Regions from separate parts of the Homo sapiens genome. Here region 2 is linked to region 1. The links are contacts of gene promoters, found by promoter capture Hi-C in blood cells and fetal thymus (Javierre and others, 2016). All regions are on one chromosome and are shown on one strand. The core of a region is centred on a gene start or on the middle of the fragment in contact, and the rest is flanking DNA. Distances in the headings are between cores, read along the strand shown.

Region 1 (3,793 bases), core at 460-2,959:
TACTGGGATTACAGGAATGAGCCACCTTGCCCGGCCAGGTTTTACATTTTTTAATACTGTTTTTGAAATCCAATGTGTATTTTATACGTAAGAATAACTCTACTCAAACTAGCCACATTCCAAATACATCAGCCAGCACAGTTTTATAGATCTGTTTTTCAGAAAATTAAAAAGAATTTGCCAGTTACAGGTACAGGAAAAAGTAGCAGAGAGGCTTGAACATGTTCACAAGTTAAGAGAAAAAGTAAAGAGAAAGAAAAGAAACATACTAATGATAACTGATGGAGTATGGACAGCAGAATGAAAGAAAAGGATCAAAAGCTTAAGTGGAATTGTTATCTTGGAAAAGAGGGTTGCATCTTCCTTGTGACTGTGAAGGGAAGAATTAAGTACCAGTATAAAATATAAGCAAGTTCGGTGAGTGTGAGGAAGAACAGAAAGTTGAGGGAGTTCAGATTAAGACCTTCTCATTTTTCTCAGTTAATCAGAAGACAATCTTAGCAGCCTCCTACCACCATCGCCAATACAATCTAAAGGGATTACATTTATGGAACAGTTTAAGAAACAGTTATCCTAGTAATACTGTTTTTGTGTAATTACTCATTTTCTAACTTTTTTCTGGGCTAGTCAATCTTAAATTTGGTCATTTTTGTCTCTAAACACAGAAACAACACTACAGATTCATTCTTTCTTTCCTCATCTATTAATTATTTGTTCAGCAACATGTATCCAATGTCTACTTATGTAGAGTATGTGTGACCCTGACCAACATTTGTATCCCTGGTATTCAGCATCTGTTAATACCAGCACACAGCAAGTGCTTTAAAAATGTAGTATTACATTCAAATATGTACTGACACAGACTTTCATTTAAAAGTCTAAATTGGTGCTGTCCAATAGAATTTTCTGTGATAATGAAAATATGAACTGTCCAATATGGCAGCCAATGGCAGCCAATAGACACATGAATTCAAATTTTAATTTTAATACCCACATATGGCTCCAATTTTAATTTTAATGGCCACTTGTGGCTAATGGCTACCGTACAGGTCTAAATATTAGAATACAGTGAGTAGCTAATGGCATTTCCATAATTATAATCAAGGTATTGTCATCTCTAATGAGTTAATACATAAAATATGGTACTGAAAATGAGTATACTTTGAATAATACTAACTGTACCACAAAGACACCATAAGAGAATTTTCTTAGTGTCAAGTAACTTTAACATTGTGTGCCAAAAAGAAAAACAAAAAAGGATATTCCAATCTTTTTATTTTCAGCCTACTTTCCCAATAGAAAAGATCAAGCTTCTGTCAACTTTCTGATTTTTCCATCTTCTCAAGTAGTGAAAATATTTTGTCATAAGGAGTCACACTTTTTTTTAATTAAAAAGAAATTACTAGAACATAGGCATTGTTTCTGTAATAAAAGGACTTTTTTGTGAGACATTAGTTGAAAATCGGGATTCATATAACGAATTAAATATGCTTATAACTCCAACCTGTCCTTAGGATTTGCTTGTCAATTTCCCCAAATTTGTCCTAGTTATCTGCATTTTAAAATAAACCCATTGCTGAAAGTCGTGGTGATTCAATCCATTAAGCCACTGGAAGTATAATCTAAACTAGCTTTTACCTGAGTTGAATAATTTCTGGTGCAGTAATCAGAATAGCTGTCTATGACTGGGATAGCAAAATATACTTTCATTACTCTGTATCCAGGGTCCTTGATGTTTAATTTATGTGATCATACAAACTTAACCAGAGACACAAAGTCCTACATTGGCCCAAGTATGATTACATACTTAGAGGATCTGATAACTTAAAACCAGTGAGGTGAGCAACTAAATGTCAGAGATAGCATTTTTTATGCACAGGAACTTGTTCAACTCGTTAACCATCCCTGTTAAGACGGCTGCCTTGTAAAATAACCACACACAACTTCCGGCCCTTCCTTTTAGCTGGGTTCATTTGAAGCCATTTTAAAAAACATTACCAGGTTTTCTGTCTTGAAGATGAGCATGGTTATACAACCAGGATTTTATTCTGGCTAAAAAATACCTAACAGTGAGAAAGGATGTCTCAATACATTTTTAAAAAAGCTTCAAGAGAACCACTTTAAAATGATCTTCCTACCACACAAAAACACCATCAGGTAAATCAGCCCTCTATACAAGAAGATTTGGCAAATCAAAAGCATAAGATCAAATCTGTAATAATTAACTTTCTGAGTAAAATTACTGTGCTACAGCTTACTGCAACAAAGCCAAAGTATTACAAGATGGTATTATAATGACATCATTAGCTTGGTTTCCTAATAAAGCATATATCTGGGATATCTGAATTTACAATGCTAAAAACAGAGACCCAACATTTGTAGGAGGGAGTGGTAGGCAGTTCTTATTTATAATTTTTTTTTTTTTTTGAGAATGATGCCCGCTGCAAAACGAAGTAACAGAAGGCTGGCTCTGAAACACCACACTTCTTGGTCTTAACGTTAAAATGCTTTTCTAGAGCAGAAGGGAAAAAGAGTTATCAGTGCTTTCGTCCCACAAAAATAGTTCCTGTTTCACTAAATTTTACCACTGCCTTTAGAATTAGTAAATGAAAACGCCAACTTGTAGAAGCATTAAGTTAATGCGATTTAGAAATTAAATAGTAACCGGCCTCATCACACAGATAAGGTTAGGCTTCTTCAGCCAGGGGCAATTTCTGTCCTAATTGTCACAGCTGCCTTAATGCTGTACTTTCTGCGCTGTAGCTGCCAGGAGGCAGATAAGATTTTTCTCTCTGAATTAATTCTGGGAAAGGTGGCACTTTTTATAGGCCTTAAATGACCCTTTTCTAAGATTTTTTGTTGGTGGTGTCCAGATGTTCCAATAATACTGGAGAGTTAACTATTCCTTCCAAACCTGTGTCGTTCAAACTGCCTTGAGGAGAACGGGAAAAAAGTAAGGTTCACACTCGAAAAGTTTCACTCGGGGTGGGGTGAGGACGAGGTAGGAAGGAAACGACAGTACGTATCGTTCGTAACTATCGTACAATACGTATCGTTTCCGAAGCTAGACCGGCAGCTGGCACAGTCTTTCCCCTTTCCAGGTCCTGGGGAGAAACGTCTCTCGCTGAGGGGGCTAGACACCTACGACAGCCTCCTCCTCGGGAATCAACACAGCTCTGGATCGTGACACGCTTCCAGAAGTCCGTGACGAGTGGGGGCAGAAGACAGGTTCTTCGCTTCCCCTTCACCCAAACACGTCCCAAATTGTTCGAGGCAGGAAGAGCACGCCTCTCTCATCTCCCCAAGACCTACTCTCGCTCAGCTCCCTCGCCCTGTTTCCTCTGGGGGCACCGCCACCCCGCTCGGGACTCCCGCCTCTGGCCACAGCAGCCCCGGAGCGGCAAGGGGGAAGAAGTAACGGAGAAGCGCCGGCTAGAAGCGGCCGCCTCCGGCCGCTCGGCGCCAGCCTCGGCGGCCCGGGCTTGGAGGCGAGACGAGCCCGGGAGCCGCACGGGGCTTCTCCGGCTCTGGGCCCCGCGCCCGTCTCCGCTGCGGCCTAGCCGGGCGCCCACGCCCTGGCCTCCCGGCTCCGCGCCGCCGGCCTTTCCCCGCCACCCCGGGCCGAGAGGCCCCGCGGGGGCGGACGAATGGAGGTGGAGGGGCGGGGGCACCTACCAGCTGCTGCCGGATCCAGCGCCACATTCCCCCGTCGTCGCCGTCCGGGTCCCGCGGGGCGCGGGGGCCGCGGGGCTGCAGGTGGAGGCCGACAAGACAGAGGCGGGAGCGGGCGAGC
Region 2 (3,433 bases), core at 700-3,199, 3.1 Mb before region 1:
GTGATGGTTGCACAATTCTGTGAATAAAAGCCATTTGAACTGTACACTTTAAATAAGGGAACTGCATAGTAGGTGAGTCGTATCTCAATAAAGCTGTTAAAAAAAATCAGGAGTTGGGGATATGGGGCTGAGGCAGGAGGAACACTTGAGACTGGGAGGTGCAATGAGCCACCGCACTCCAGCCTGCACGACAGAGCCAGAGAGACCCTGTCTCAAAAAAAAAAAAAAAAAATCAAATGACCCTTTACCAGTATCAAAGTGCCTCATCAGCCAGGTACCACCTTTTCAATGGATGGGGAGACTGAAGTGTAGAGGAATTAAGTATCCGACTTGGGGGTTGGGGGAAGTGGCTCACGCCTGTAATCCCAACACTTTGGGAGGCCGAGGTGGGAGGATCGCTTGAGCCCAGGAGACCAGCCTGGCCAATATGCCAAAACTCCGTCTCTATAAAAAATACAAAAAATTAGCCTGGCGTGTTGGCAGGCGCCTGTAATTCCAGCTGCTACGGAGGCTGAGGCGGAGAATCACTTGAACCCGGGAGGCAGACGTTGCAGTGAGCCGAGATCGCGCCGTTGCACTCCAGTCTGAGCGACAAAGCAAGACTCCGTCTCAAAAAAAAGAAGAAAGAAAGTATCCGACTTGGTCTTGGGCTCTTCTCACTATAATCCAACTATATTCTCTTACGAAATGGCAGAATTAATCTTCCCTCCTTGTGACACCCCTGTAGTTATACATGCCTCTGGCACTTACAATCATTTTTTCTAATTGTGTTTAACGGTTCTAGCACATTACTTTGTAACTTTAGAATAGAGATTGTGTCTGATTCCTGTGTATTAAGGTCCGACCTTTTTTATTTTTATTTATTTATTTTTTAGACAGAGTCTCGCTCTGTCGCCCAGGCTGGAGTGCAGCGGTCCGATCTCGGCTCACTGCAACCTCCGCCTCCCGGGTTCAAGCGATTCTCCTGCCTCAGCCTCCCGAGTGGCTGGGATTACAGGCATGCATCACCACTCCCGGCTAATTTTTTTGTATTTTTAGTAAAGACTGGGTTTCACCATGTTGGCCAGGCTGGTCTCGAACTCCTGACCATGTGATCCGCCTGCCTCGGCCTCTCAAAGTGCTGGGATTACAGGCGTGAGCCACCGCACCCAGCCGATCTGACCTTTTTTTTTTTTTTTTTTTTTTTTTGAGACGGAATCTCGCTCTATTGCCCAGGCTGGAGTGCAGTGGCGCGATCTCGGCTCACTGCAAGCTCCGCCTCCTGGGTTCACGCCATTCTCCTGCCTCAGCCTCCCAAGTAGCTGGGACTACAGGCGCCCGCCACCGCGCCTGGCTAATTTTTTTGTATTTTTAGTAGAGACGGAGTTTCACTGGGTTAGCCAGAATGGTTTCGATCTCCTGACCTCGTGATCCACCCGTCTCGGCCTCCCAAAGTGCTAGGATTACAGCGTGAGCCAGCGCGCCCAGCCCGATCTGACCTTTTTTAAATGAAGACGTATTCAGGAAGGAAATATCTACAAGTAAGACAAAATTAAGTAAGAACCCAATGTACGAACATTCACTTCTCTAACAAAGGAAAGACACAAAACAAGAAACTAATAAGGCGGAGAAAGGAATTGAGATTGGGGGAAACAGCATCTCCTTCCTCCCTGCACACTCGGCAGGTTCCCTGGAAAGTTCTAGAAGGGATTCAGAAGTGGCTGGTGACATCACTGTGGCTCCGTGGCGCCCACTACAGCAGCCAAACGACACGCTAGCTTTCCCGCCTCATAGAGGCTCGTGAATGGGGGTGGGGCCCTGCGAGGGGCGGGGTCACGTCACTTCCTGTGCGGGACGCGCTGCAGCTGGAGAGGAAAGGCAGAGCGAGGAGGGGCGAGGCCAAGAAAGCGCGCGTTTCTGGGAGGGGAGGAGCCTGGCTAAGGAGCGCCGCGTCACATCCGGTAGAGTTAGAGCCCGTGCGGAGGCGGTGCGGAGCATTTCGGCTCTGAGCGGCTGGGCGACCGGCGCGTCGTGCGGGGCTGCGGCGGAGCCTCCTTAAGGAAGGTGCAAGAGGTTGGCAGCTTCGATTGAAGCACATCGACCGGCGACAGCAGCCAGGAGTCATGAGCGACAGCGGCGAGCAGAACTACGGCGAGCGGGTACGTAGAGCTGCGGTAGGGGGTGGCTGTGTGGTCCTAGCTCCTTGCATCTTTTTCTAGGCCCGTCGGCCTCGGGCCAGGAGGCAGGGGCGTTTTAGGCTCCGAAGTCTGAAGCCGGGAGGGCAGGCAAGGGAGACAGCATTTAACCAAAAAAAGCCTTTGTGGATAGTGCCTTAGTGCCTTTGGTCGTGAAGGAGGGAGGCCCCCGGCGGGTTTATGTGGCTTCTGCCCGAGACGGCCGTTTTTCCCGTTATAAGAGGGGGAAGATGAAAATGGCCGCTGCGTCCCCGCGGTGTTGGGGGAGGGGAGCGATATCTTATTTCGGCGTTGCTCTCCTGCGAAGGTCCGCCGCAGCCATCTTGGGCTGGCGGGCTGGGCGAGCTGCCAGAGGCACAAAATGGCGGAGAAGCCGCGCGGCAACGCGGACCCGACCCGCAGCGGGCCGCGCTTCGTAAGGCCGCGTGGTGGGGTGCAAGGGGACAGACGACGTTCTTTTGGGTCTTTGGGCCGGTGTTTAGGTTAACGAAGGACCGTCTTTGCCTCCACGGAAAGGACGGAGTCTGGGATGTCTTTGGGGCCTCTTAAGATGGAAACTAATCCAAGGCCGACTAAGTTCTGGGCCCGTTAGGTGGAGGGGATTGCGTGAGGGCTTTGTGTTTGGCCTAAATGAAGCGCTTTTCTCTGATGCCGAAAGGGCTTCCCAGGCAAAAATCTGTATCAGTATTCTATTAGGACAGACCACAAAGTCGTTAAGATGATTTTGTGGACATCGCATTTCCACGGGATTGTGAAGGAGAAATTGGCGGGCAACCATTTACGGCGCCGTTATTTCCTTTGTTTTGAGGCGTTCTAATACTTAGAACCACAGCGTGTGTTGGCTACAGTTTTCTTTCCCTTAAGTTTCCACCTCTTAAAGGTGTTCAGTGAGGGTTGATTGAATTGCGGGAACAAGACAGTTCTAGGGTTTAAACAGCATACGTAGCTGGTCTGTGGGGCTCTGGGTATTGGATTCGGAAAGCATTGAATGATGCGAACATACGAGGCTTGCTAGAATTAAGAGGAATCTGTTAGAAGGGTGATAGAAAAGCACCATAGAAATTGATTTTTGAGGCTGTGGGAATAATTTGTGCTTTTTTAAAAAAAAAAAACAATTTGTTACCTAAGTTTCCCCTTGTTGGTAAAGCTACCTTAAGATCTGAATATGATTTATCAGGTAAATAAGACTATTAAATGTCTTAGCAAACTTTTGATTAAGATTTTATATGATTCCTCAGAGTATTTTAGGAAGAAATTTT

The links. The method cuts DNA at HindIII sites, captures the fragments that hold promoters and counts their contacts. A CHiCAGO score of 5 or more calls a contact.
Region 2: the fragment with the promoter of TRA2B here is called in contact with a fragment that was not itself captured in region 1 in 1 of 17 cell types (naive CD4 T cells); the score reaches 5.2 in naive CD4 T cells.

The regions. Positions count from the first base shown.
Region 1 is chr3:182,793,669-182,797,461 of GRCh38, reverse strand. ATP11B (ATPase phospholipid transporting 11B (putative)) reads right to left here. Exons shown (of 30, transcript NM_014616.3): 1 at 3,676-3,793. The coding sequence starts at 3,702. Among named protein-coding and RNA genes, the nearest start is that of ATP11B, 2.1 kb to the right of the region's middle. RefSeq lists a silencer at 3,374-3,793. The HindIII fragment of the contact is 794 bases long and covers 1,313-2,106 here.
Region 2 is chr3:185,936,530-185,939,962 of GRCh38, reverse strand. TRA2B (transformer 2 beta homolog) reads left to right here and starts at 1,949. Exons shown (of 9, transcript NM_004593.3): 1 at 1,949-2,138. The coding sequence starts at 2,103. RefSeq lists enhancers at 2,018-2,477, 1,888-2,615, 2,518-2,727. The HindIII fragment of the contact is 7,639 bases long and covers 1-3,433 here.